Regions from separate parts of the Homo sapiens genome. Here all the other regions are linked to region 2. The links are contacts of gene promoters, found by promoter capture Hi-C in blood cells and fetal thymus (Javierre and others, 2016). All regions are on one chromosome and are shown on one strand. Each heading gives the region's core, a stretch centred on a gene start or on the middle of the fragment in contact. The rest is flanking DNA. Distances are from core to core; before and after follow the strand shown.

Evidence for each region. Contacts are between HindIII fragments. The CHiCAGO score rates a contact against its expected background, and 5 or more counts as called.
Region 1: a fragment that was not itself captured here is called in contact with the fragment with the promoter of MRPL33 in region 2 in 2 of 17 cell types (endothelial precursors and M1 macrophages); the score reaches 8.1 in endothelial precursors.
Region 3: a contact is called between a fragment that was not itself captured here and the fragment with the promoter of MRPL33 in region 2, in 1 of 17 cell types (megakaryocytes). The highest score is 5.1, in megakaryocytes.

What each region holds. Positions count from the first base shown.
Region 1 is chr2:28,283,358-28,286,471 of GRCh38, reverse strand. All of the region lies in intron 10 of BABAM2 (BRISC and BRCA1 A complex member 2), which reads right to left. Among named protein-coding and RNA genes, the nearest start is that of BABAM2-AS2, 26 kb to the left of the region's middle. The HindIII fragment of the contact is 508 bases long and covers 1,205-1,712 here.
Region 2 is chr2:27,770,441-27,773,207 of GRCh38, reverse strand. MRPL33 (mitochondrial ribosomal protein L33) reads right to left here and starts at 1,489. Exons shown (of 4, transcript NM_004891.4): 1 at 1,409-1,489; 2 at 516-534. The coding sequence starts at 1,430. RefSeq lists enhancers at 1,308-1,437, 678-1,494, 1,728-1,847. The HindIII fragment of the contact is 2,472 bases long and covers 876-2,767 here.
Region 3 is chr2:28,302,052-28,305,154 of GRCh38, reverse strand. The region is part of intron 11 of BABAM2 (BRISC and BRCA1 A complex member 2); the gene reads right to left. Among named protein-coding and RNA genes, the nearest start is that of BABAM2-AS2, 6.9 kb to the left of the region's middle. The HindIII fragment of the contact is 302 bases long and covers 1,545-1,846 here.

The DNA of each region.
Region 1 (3,114 bases), core at 209-2,708, 510 kb before region 2:
GAGAGGCTCTGGATAAAGATTGCAAACTGTGGAGTGCTCTGAACACATAGTGAAGGACTGTGAACGTCTTTCTATGAGCATTACCCTTGAACATTTCTAGGGAAAAAAGCTCACACCACTCATTCCAGTGTGGCAGACACTTTCCTATAATGCCCCCAGCATGGTACAATCCTCTAGAATGGAGAATGCTTTGGAAAGTATGTACAAATCAAAAATAAGGCCAGGCGCGGTGGCTCACGCCTGTAATCCCAACACTTTGGGAGGCCGAGATGGGTGGATCACGAGGTCAGGAGTTCGAGACCACCCTGGCCAACATGGTGAAACCCTGTTTCTAATAAAAATACAAAAATTAGCTGGGCGTGGTGGTGCCTGCCTGTAATCCCAGCTACTCAGGACGCTGAGGCAGGAGAATTGCTTGAACCCAGGAGGTAGAGGTTGCAGTGAGCCGAGATTGTACCACTGCACTCCAGCCTGGGTGACAGAATGAGACTCTGTCTCAAAAAAAAAAAAAAAAAAGTTATTATTCGTTAGTAGAAGGGGGTGACTATTTACTTCTCAGTATAGGAACCAATTCCTCTCTACAAAACATCTCTTAAGACTTATCAGCCGGTGTGGTGGCTCATGCCTGTAATCCTAGCACTTTGGGAGCCTAGGCGGGAGGATCGCTTGAGCCCAGGAGTTTGAGATAAGCCTGGGCAACATAGCAAGATCCCGTTTCCATTAAAAAAAAAAAAGACTTATTTGCACATCTCTTATGTTCAAGGGAGATGCTGAGTGGAAGGCTTGATAATGGACTTACTATGTGAAAAATCCAGAGAGTCAGGCCTGAAGTTTGGGATTGGATGTAAGGCTGACACAGGACACAGTTTAAATCAAATATCTGGCAGAAGGATTACATGTTTCCTCATAAGACTTGGTTAGAAGCACTGGTCACCATGTCATTCCCCCATGCAGAAACCTTCATTAACCTATTTTTATTTCTACATTATCCTTTCCAAGCAGTTTCCATGCTGGACTTATACCGTGCAGGGATATTACAATTATAGGACAATGTCTGACCCACTAGAATGTGTGGAATGGGGATATTTTCCCCAGAAATGTTAAAAAATCAGCCACTCAGTCTGCAAGATGGGTGGGGAACAGCTTATCTGGGTGAAGCCGAGTGTTGAGTGAGGAAGGCATGTGTACTCGAGGTGGGCAAGCTTTGGCAGGTGAACTGACCTCTGTGCTCCTCTTTTCCCATTCCCAAGACTGGAAAAAACTTTAAGCTCAGGGTTGGAAATGAAGCAGGTAAAGCACGCCATACAGTCTTGCACATAGAAAAGTGCTCAATAAATACAGGCTGCAACCTAAAGAACTAAGGATGGGAGGGATGGCATACTGGGAAGAAAACGGTGTTTGGAATTTGACAGATCTGGGCTTGATTCCTCCTTTGCCAGTTGCTACCTGACCTCAGGCAACTGACTATACTCTCTAAGTCTAGGTTTTCTCATCTTTAAAATGGGATAATACCTACCTTGCAAGGCTCCTGGATGGTTTACATGGTATAATGAATATATGTGCAGAATACTTGGCACATAGCAGGTCTTCATAAATGATACCTATTATTACTCACTTTTCTCTTAGAAGCAATTAAAACAGACAAACAAACCTGAGTCTATATAATTTCTTTTCCTAGCCTGATTTCCAGCTGAGAAAATACAAACCAAGCTTTCAAAACAACTTTCAAAACAAGTTGAAAACTAAGCTTTCAACTTAGTTTTGTCCATCTATTTATTTGAGGTAAATTCAGAGTCCTTTGGAACTCTTCATTTTTAATTCTACAATCTTCTTCCAGCAAATAAAAAATCATAGCTCTAGAGAATCTACGGTCAAATGGGGTCCTGCAGCCAAACCGGACCACAGATCAGAAAAAGATCTGAACAGAGAGGAAGCCTGATGAAACCTCGGTCAGACAGTTTTTCCTTTGTGCTTTGATCATGCAATATTCTCTCCATTCTCATAGGTGCTTTCTTTAAGATAAAGGCTCTTTCTTTTTTTGCTAACCAATTTATTTGTGAGTGTTTTTTTTTTTTTAAAGACCCACAATATAATCAATCTTTGTATATTTAGGATTACCTCTTTGGCCTGTGAATTGTCCAGCTTTTTGTTTTGTTTTCTTGCTACTGTTTTCTGACTAGCTCCTTGGTCATTACTTCTTCTATGAGCATGGGTGGGACAGGCAGCAGGGGAATGGAAATTAATGTTCCTCTTTGATAGCAATTCTGATTAGAAATTTCATTTGAGATAAAGGTATGATTGCTGCCTAAAATACTGTTTTTAAATTGTCATATTATTCTGAAATTTAACTAACTCAAAGAGAATAAACTGTGCAAACATAAGGTGATCATGTTGAGGCAAGCCCTTGACTTGAGTGAGTTGCCTGACTTGTACATCCAAATTTAAAGGAATAAGATACTTTTCAATCAAAGGTATTGAATCATTGTTAATCCGAAGAAAAGCATGCATATTCACAGTCAGTAAACCATTTCTGACAGCTGTGCTTTCCAGATAACTGGGGTTTGTTTTTGAAAGCTCTAAAACTTTTATTTTTCATTGTTTTTGATAAAAATCTCTATAAAATGGACCTTACATTTACTGCTCCCCTATCCCTTTCTAAATGACTCAAAGTCAAATTTAAGAATATCAATACTGATAGTGGGCCATACAATTGTGACACCAAGGCCTAATCAGACACGCCAGTCCCTAAGCTAAGTGTGGCCTATATCTGTAGTTTCCTGGTTCCCTCCACACCTACCTCCTGGGCCCAGGCTATTAGGTTACTCTTCTTGTACTCTTACAAGGTTAGTGTATCTATGTACCACAGACCTTCTCTGGGTAGTTAAACTGCAAGGGACTTGAAACAAACTAACAAGTAAACAAACAAACAAAACACAGAATGTTCCAAGGGACTTGGGAACCAGCCACCAAGTTTACTAGAAGGCGAGAGCCAGGCCTGAGGGTGAAATACAGAGAAGTGGTGACCCTCTTGAGTTACTTCCTCTGGCTATCTTTTGACAAGTGTACTTACAGGGTGTACTGTAGCTAGGTGAGACATTTACTTAAAAATCTCTG
Region 2 (2,767 bases), core at 240-2,739:
GGTAGTTCTAGTCTCTCTGGTACAGCATGGAATCTTTAATCTTGGCTATTTTTGAAATGCTTATACCATGAATGCAAAGGATTACAAAACTCATTAAAACAGACTATGATTTAATCAAAGCAGAGTTTGTTCTTCTGGATTCCCGTAGTGAGCTCCAGACACATGGCCCCTGGTCCTCGATTTGAGGAAATGGAAATATGGTGGTAGTCCAAATACAGCACAGCCCAATGGTTTGTTTAGAAACAGACAGTGAGCTCACAAATCCTGGGACTAGAAAAGCAGCAAAGGTTCCTTCAAGTATTTCAATGCTCACAGAAGTAGCTCAGTTCAGCAGGAGGGAAAATATTTTTGAAAGAGTTCATAAAGAAAAAATAATCAACTAAGTAATCCACAAACCAACTCTTAGGAAATCAAGGCCCAATGCTTAATTTCATATAAGGATGTACTGGGAGCAGCTAGACTAACAAATCCAACATAAACAAGTGACGTTTAAAAAAGGAAAAATCTTTACTTACTTTGACTTGCTCTTGGCAACTTTTTTGTAGACAGGAAGGGTTGGAAAAGAAAATAAAAATATAAATGTATTCTCTTTCTTATGCAAAGTTCATATAAATATCAGTAATAACCAAAAATATTTAACTTATGAAATATGCCATGAGGTGTCACTCAAGTAACTATTCCCTATCTATTAGGGATCCCCTTAGGATTTTATAGAAGGAAGGTTAAAAGATCCAATCAGACCAACACAATTCTAGATTTAATATTTTGCATAATTTCATGACTGTTGGACTGGCTACCTTTTAAATCTTTCTAAAGTAATACCTGCTCCATTTTTTCCCTCTTCTAAGGTGCAAGTATTCGCGCTGCAGCAAGCTTCTTGTTTGACAAGTTTAACCTTTGCAAATTACAACAACCATCACATGTGGTGAAAACCAGATACTAAATCTAACTGGGAAGTCAGCCAAGGGTAAAGAAGAGCACTGACTCGGGAGCCCGAGGACTTCTTTAACTGCCCTGCCGCATTACTCAGGCAATTCATTGCCCCTCTCGGGAGCGGTTTCCTTATTTTTAGAGTTCGAAATAGGTGGGCTGCAAATTCTGAGGTCCTTCGGACAAAGATTCTCCTAACACGGGCTGGAGAAAAACGCCCCACAGCCAGACTCAACGGTCCGTGAGGACGGCAATTGAATCCAGACACCGCAGACCCCTTCTCAGGCACCCACAGGTCCGCGCAGGGAGGCGCGCCGCGGGGCATGCCGGACGCTGTGGTCCTGAAGGCCTGGAAAAGTACGCAGCTGCAGCTTCCCGTCCTGTTCGCACATCCTTCCCCGCATCATTCCGGGGCCCTGCCTGTCACGGCCCCCTAACCCTCGCCGTAACCCCTACCGGCGTCTCCAGCCCCACTTACAGAAGACCGCGGAGAGGAACATGGTGACCACACCTGGGCAGTCTCCGTCACCGGCCAAAAGGCCCCCAACCAACAACAACTGCTTCCGGGGCACGGCCCGGTTCTGGAAGAGGACATCCGGCAGTCGCCCGAGGCCACGCCCCCCGCCTGGAACCTGCCTCCAGTCGTCTGGCTCGTTCCTCGGTTTCTCAGAGCGAGTGTGTTTTGCTTTTGTCGTGCTGGAGGTTGGAATCCTCATCATTCTGGAAAGGGATTTACAGCTCAGGGTTCGCGCCCCGGCCCTGACTCCTATTTCTGGGTCAAGTGCTTTCAGCGTTAGGTGCTTTCCATATTTGTTTCACGAAATAATCGCAACCACCTGCATTAGACCCACAAGAACAACTGTGTATTGTACTTCGGCCGCTCCAGCGTATCAGCCCCTCGCATATTTTCTTAAAATGTTGCCTCCCCCGACCCAACTCCCTCTCCGCCTGGTTAAGCCTTACTCTCACTCTTCTGAGTCCCTTCGGCATTAAGAACCCCACCTTTCCTTAGTTATCCCAATCTCTAGGAGGGCAGGACCCTTTGCATCTCAAACTTCTGTATCCAAACACCTAGCACAGTTCCTGACATAGAAGCCAAATAACAGATTGAGAGCATTCACATCACGTGCCTAATATCACAGAACTACCAGGTGGCAGAGTAAGAATTTAAACCTAGATTTTATCTGACTCCAAAGACTCATGCCTTTCCCAGTAGACATTGGGACCTACCAGTTTGCAATCATTAATTTTTCATGGCTCTGTAAGGAACCTGGGCTCCTCTAACACCAAGGACCTCGTCAGTAACCTCATTTCGCAACTAATAATCAGGACTTTTGGATTTTTTTCCTAATCCGTGATTTGTATCTACATATGAAGTCTTACAGATGTGAAATAAGATTTAATCGCATGGCTCACGCCTGTAATCCCAGCCCTTTGGGAGGCTGAGGCAGGCAGATCACTTGAGGTCACGAGTTTGAGACCAGCCTGGCCAACGTCGCGGAATCCCGCCTGTACTAAAAATACAAAAATTAGCTGAACCCGGGAGGCGGAGGTTGCAGTGAGCCGAGATAGCGCCACTGCACTCCAGCCTGGGCGACAAAGTGAGACTCCGTCTCAAAAAAAAAAAAAAAAAAAAGTAATAAAACTGTTTTAAAGAAAATTCAGCTCTCTGTGCCATCACAAAGAAGATGAGGAGGAAAAAAATCAGCTCTCCATACAATACAATTCAATTTTTTAAATTAAGACCGTCCTTCTCCTTAGTACCTATAATACTTTTTTTCCTTCTAATCATTCTTGATATTTATCTTCCCATAACCGGACTCCAGCTACTGAGTAC
Region 3 (3,103 bases), core at 446-2,945, 530 kb before region 2:
TTAGCCTTAATAGAGAAACATACAGCTAGATTCTGCTCTTATCACTTATGTAAAAAATTGTACTGGAGGTCCTATTCAGTGCAAGTAGGTGGAAAAAGAAACAGAAAAACATAAAGATTGGAAGGAAAGAAGTAAAGCTGTTAGCATAAGGCGTGACTGTTTATGTAAGAAATTGCAGGCTGGGCGTGCTGGCTCATGCCTGTAATCCTAGTGCTTTGGGAGGCCAAGGCAGGTGGATTGCCTGAGCTCAGGAGTTCAAGACCAGCCTGGGCCACATGGTGAAATCCCGTCATGCCTGTAATCCTAGCACTTTGGGAGGCCAAGGCAGGTGGATTGCCTGTGCTCAGGAGTTCGAGACCAGCCTGGGCAACATGGTAAAACTCCGTCTCTACTAAAAAAAAAATACAAAAAATTAGCCTGGCGTGGCAGCGTGTGCCTGTAGTCCCAGCTACTTAAGAGGCTGAAGCAGGAGAATTGCTAGAACCTGGGAGGTGAGGTTGCAGTGAGCCAAGATAATGCCACTGCATTCCAGCCTGGGTGACAGAGTGAGACTCCATCTCCAAAAAAAAGAAAAAAGAAATTATAAGAAATCTATTTAAAAAATCTATTAGATTTTAGTAGTAATAAGTGAATTTAGCAATGTCACAGGATGCCATGTCAGTATAGAAAAATCATTTGTATTCCTGTATACCAGCAACAAACTAGAAAATAAATTTTTAAAAATTTTGTTTATATTTTTATATATTTATAAATATTTTATATTTATATTTTTATATAATTTACAATAAAAGCAAAAACAGGTGGAATGCAGTGGCTCATGCCTGTAATGCCAGCACTTTGGGAGGCCGAGGCGGGTGGATCACCTGAAGTCAGGAGTTTGAAACCAGACTGGCCAACATGCCAAAACCCTGTCTGTACTAAAAACACAAAAATTGGCCGGGCATAGTGGCGGGCGCCTGTAATCCCAGCTACTAGGAAGGCTGAGACAGGACAATCACTTGAACCTGGGAGGTGGAGGTTGCGGTGAGCCAAGATCATGCCATTGCACTCCAGCCTGGGTGATAAAAGCAAAACTTTGTCTCAAAAAAATAAATAAAAATACAAAAATTAGCTGGGTGTGGTGGCACACGTCTGTAGTCCTGGGTACTCAGGAGGCTGAGGCACAAGAATCTTTTGAATCTGGGAGGCAGAGTTTGCAGTAAGCCAAGATTGCGCCACGGTACTCTAGCCTGGGCAACAGAGCAAGACTCTGTCTCAAAAAAAAGAAAAAGAAAAACATTTAAAAATATTTCAAGATTTCTACATTGAAATATTTTAAAAATTTCTGAGAAACTAAAGACCTAAATAAAACCATGTTCATTGATTCAGTATTATAAAAGATTCAGTATTGTAAAAATGTCAATTCTTCCCTTGTTGATCAGCAGGCTTTTGGTGGGGGGGGCGTTGGAGTGGGGAGAGGTGGGAATTGGCAAGCTGATTCTAAAAGATATATAAAAATGCAAAGGACCTAGAATAGCCAAAACAATCTTTAAAAAGAACAAGCTTGGATACCTTTCCTGATTTCAAGAAATATTGGTATACCTTTCCTGATTTCAAGAAATATTGGTATACAAACCTATCAATGGAACAGAATAGAGTATCCAGAAATAGATCCACTCACATGTGGTTAATTGACTTTTGACAAAGATGTAAAGGTAATTCAACAGGGAAAGAAAAGTATTTTCAACAAATGGTGTTGTAATATCTGGATACATATGAACAAAAAATTAACCTTGGCATCTACCTCATATCATATACAAAAATTAATTTGAGATGGATCATAGGCCTATGTATCAAAACAAAAGCTTCTAGAAGAAAACATAGGATAATTTCTTCATGACCTTCTAGTAGGCTAATAATTTTGAGTATACAAAGAGCATTAACGTAAAAAACAGATTTCATTTAAAAAATGAAGATTTTCTGCTCATCAAAAGACACTCTTAAGAAATGAAAAGGGCAGGAATAGTGGCTCACACCTGTAATCCCAAGATTTTGGGAGGCTGCGGCGGGAGGATCAAGGATCACTTGAGCCCAAGGGTTCAAGACCAGCCTGGGCAACATAGCGAAATATTGTCTCTATTAAAAAAAGGAAAAAGAAAATGAAATGGCAAGCCACAGATTGAAAGACGATACTCACAAAAAATATATCTGACAAATATATAAAGAAACTCATATATACAACTCATTAATAAAAAGACTAACAACCAAATTAAAAATAGGCAAGATTTGAACAGACATTTCATGAAAGAGATAAACCAATAAGCACATGCCAAGATGCTCAACATCATTTATCACCAGGAAATGTAAATTAAAAACATGAGATCTTACTTTATCCTCTCTAGAATGGTACAATTTAAAAAGACTGACAATAGGATGTGTTGGTGAGAATGTGAAGCAACTGGAACCCTGGCATATTGCTGATGGGAGGGTAAACCGATACCACTTTAAAAAAGCTTGTCACCTTCTCATAAAGTTAATCACATATGTACTCCCACTCCCAAGTATTTACCTGAAGAAAGGAAAACACATGTCTACAAAAAGGCTTGGTCATAGCAGCTCTATTAATAAAATCCTCAACCTGGAAACAACACAAGTATCTACACATGGGTGAATGGATTAATACATTATATTCATATAATAGAATATTACTCAGCAGTAAAAAAGAAATGCCATAACAGATACATTTTTTTTTTTTTTTTGAGATGGAGTCTCGCTCTGTCACCCAGGCTGGAGTGCAGTGGTGTGATCTTGGCTCACTGCAACCTCCGCCTCCTGGGTTCAACAGATTCTCCTGCCTCAGCCTCCGGAGTAGCTGGGATTATAGGCTTGTGCCAGCATGCCCTGCTAATTTTTGTATTTTTAGTAGAGATGGGGTTTTCCCATGTTGGCCAGACTGTTCTCGAACTTCCTACCTCAGGTGATCCGCCCGCTTCAGTCCCCCAAAATGCTGGGAGAACAGACGTGATGACTGCTCCCGGCCACCATAACAGCTAAATCTTAAACAATTATGTTGAATGAAATGAAGATAAATTTCATTGTGTCAGACACAAAAGAGTATGATCTG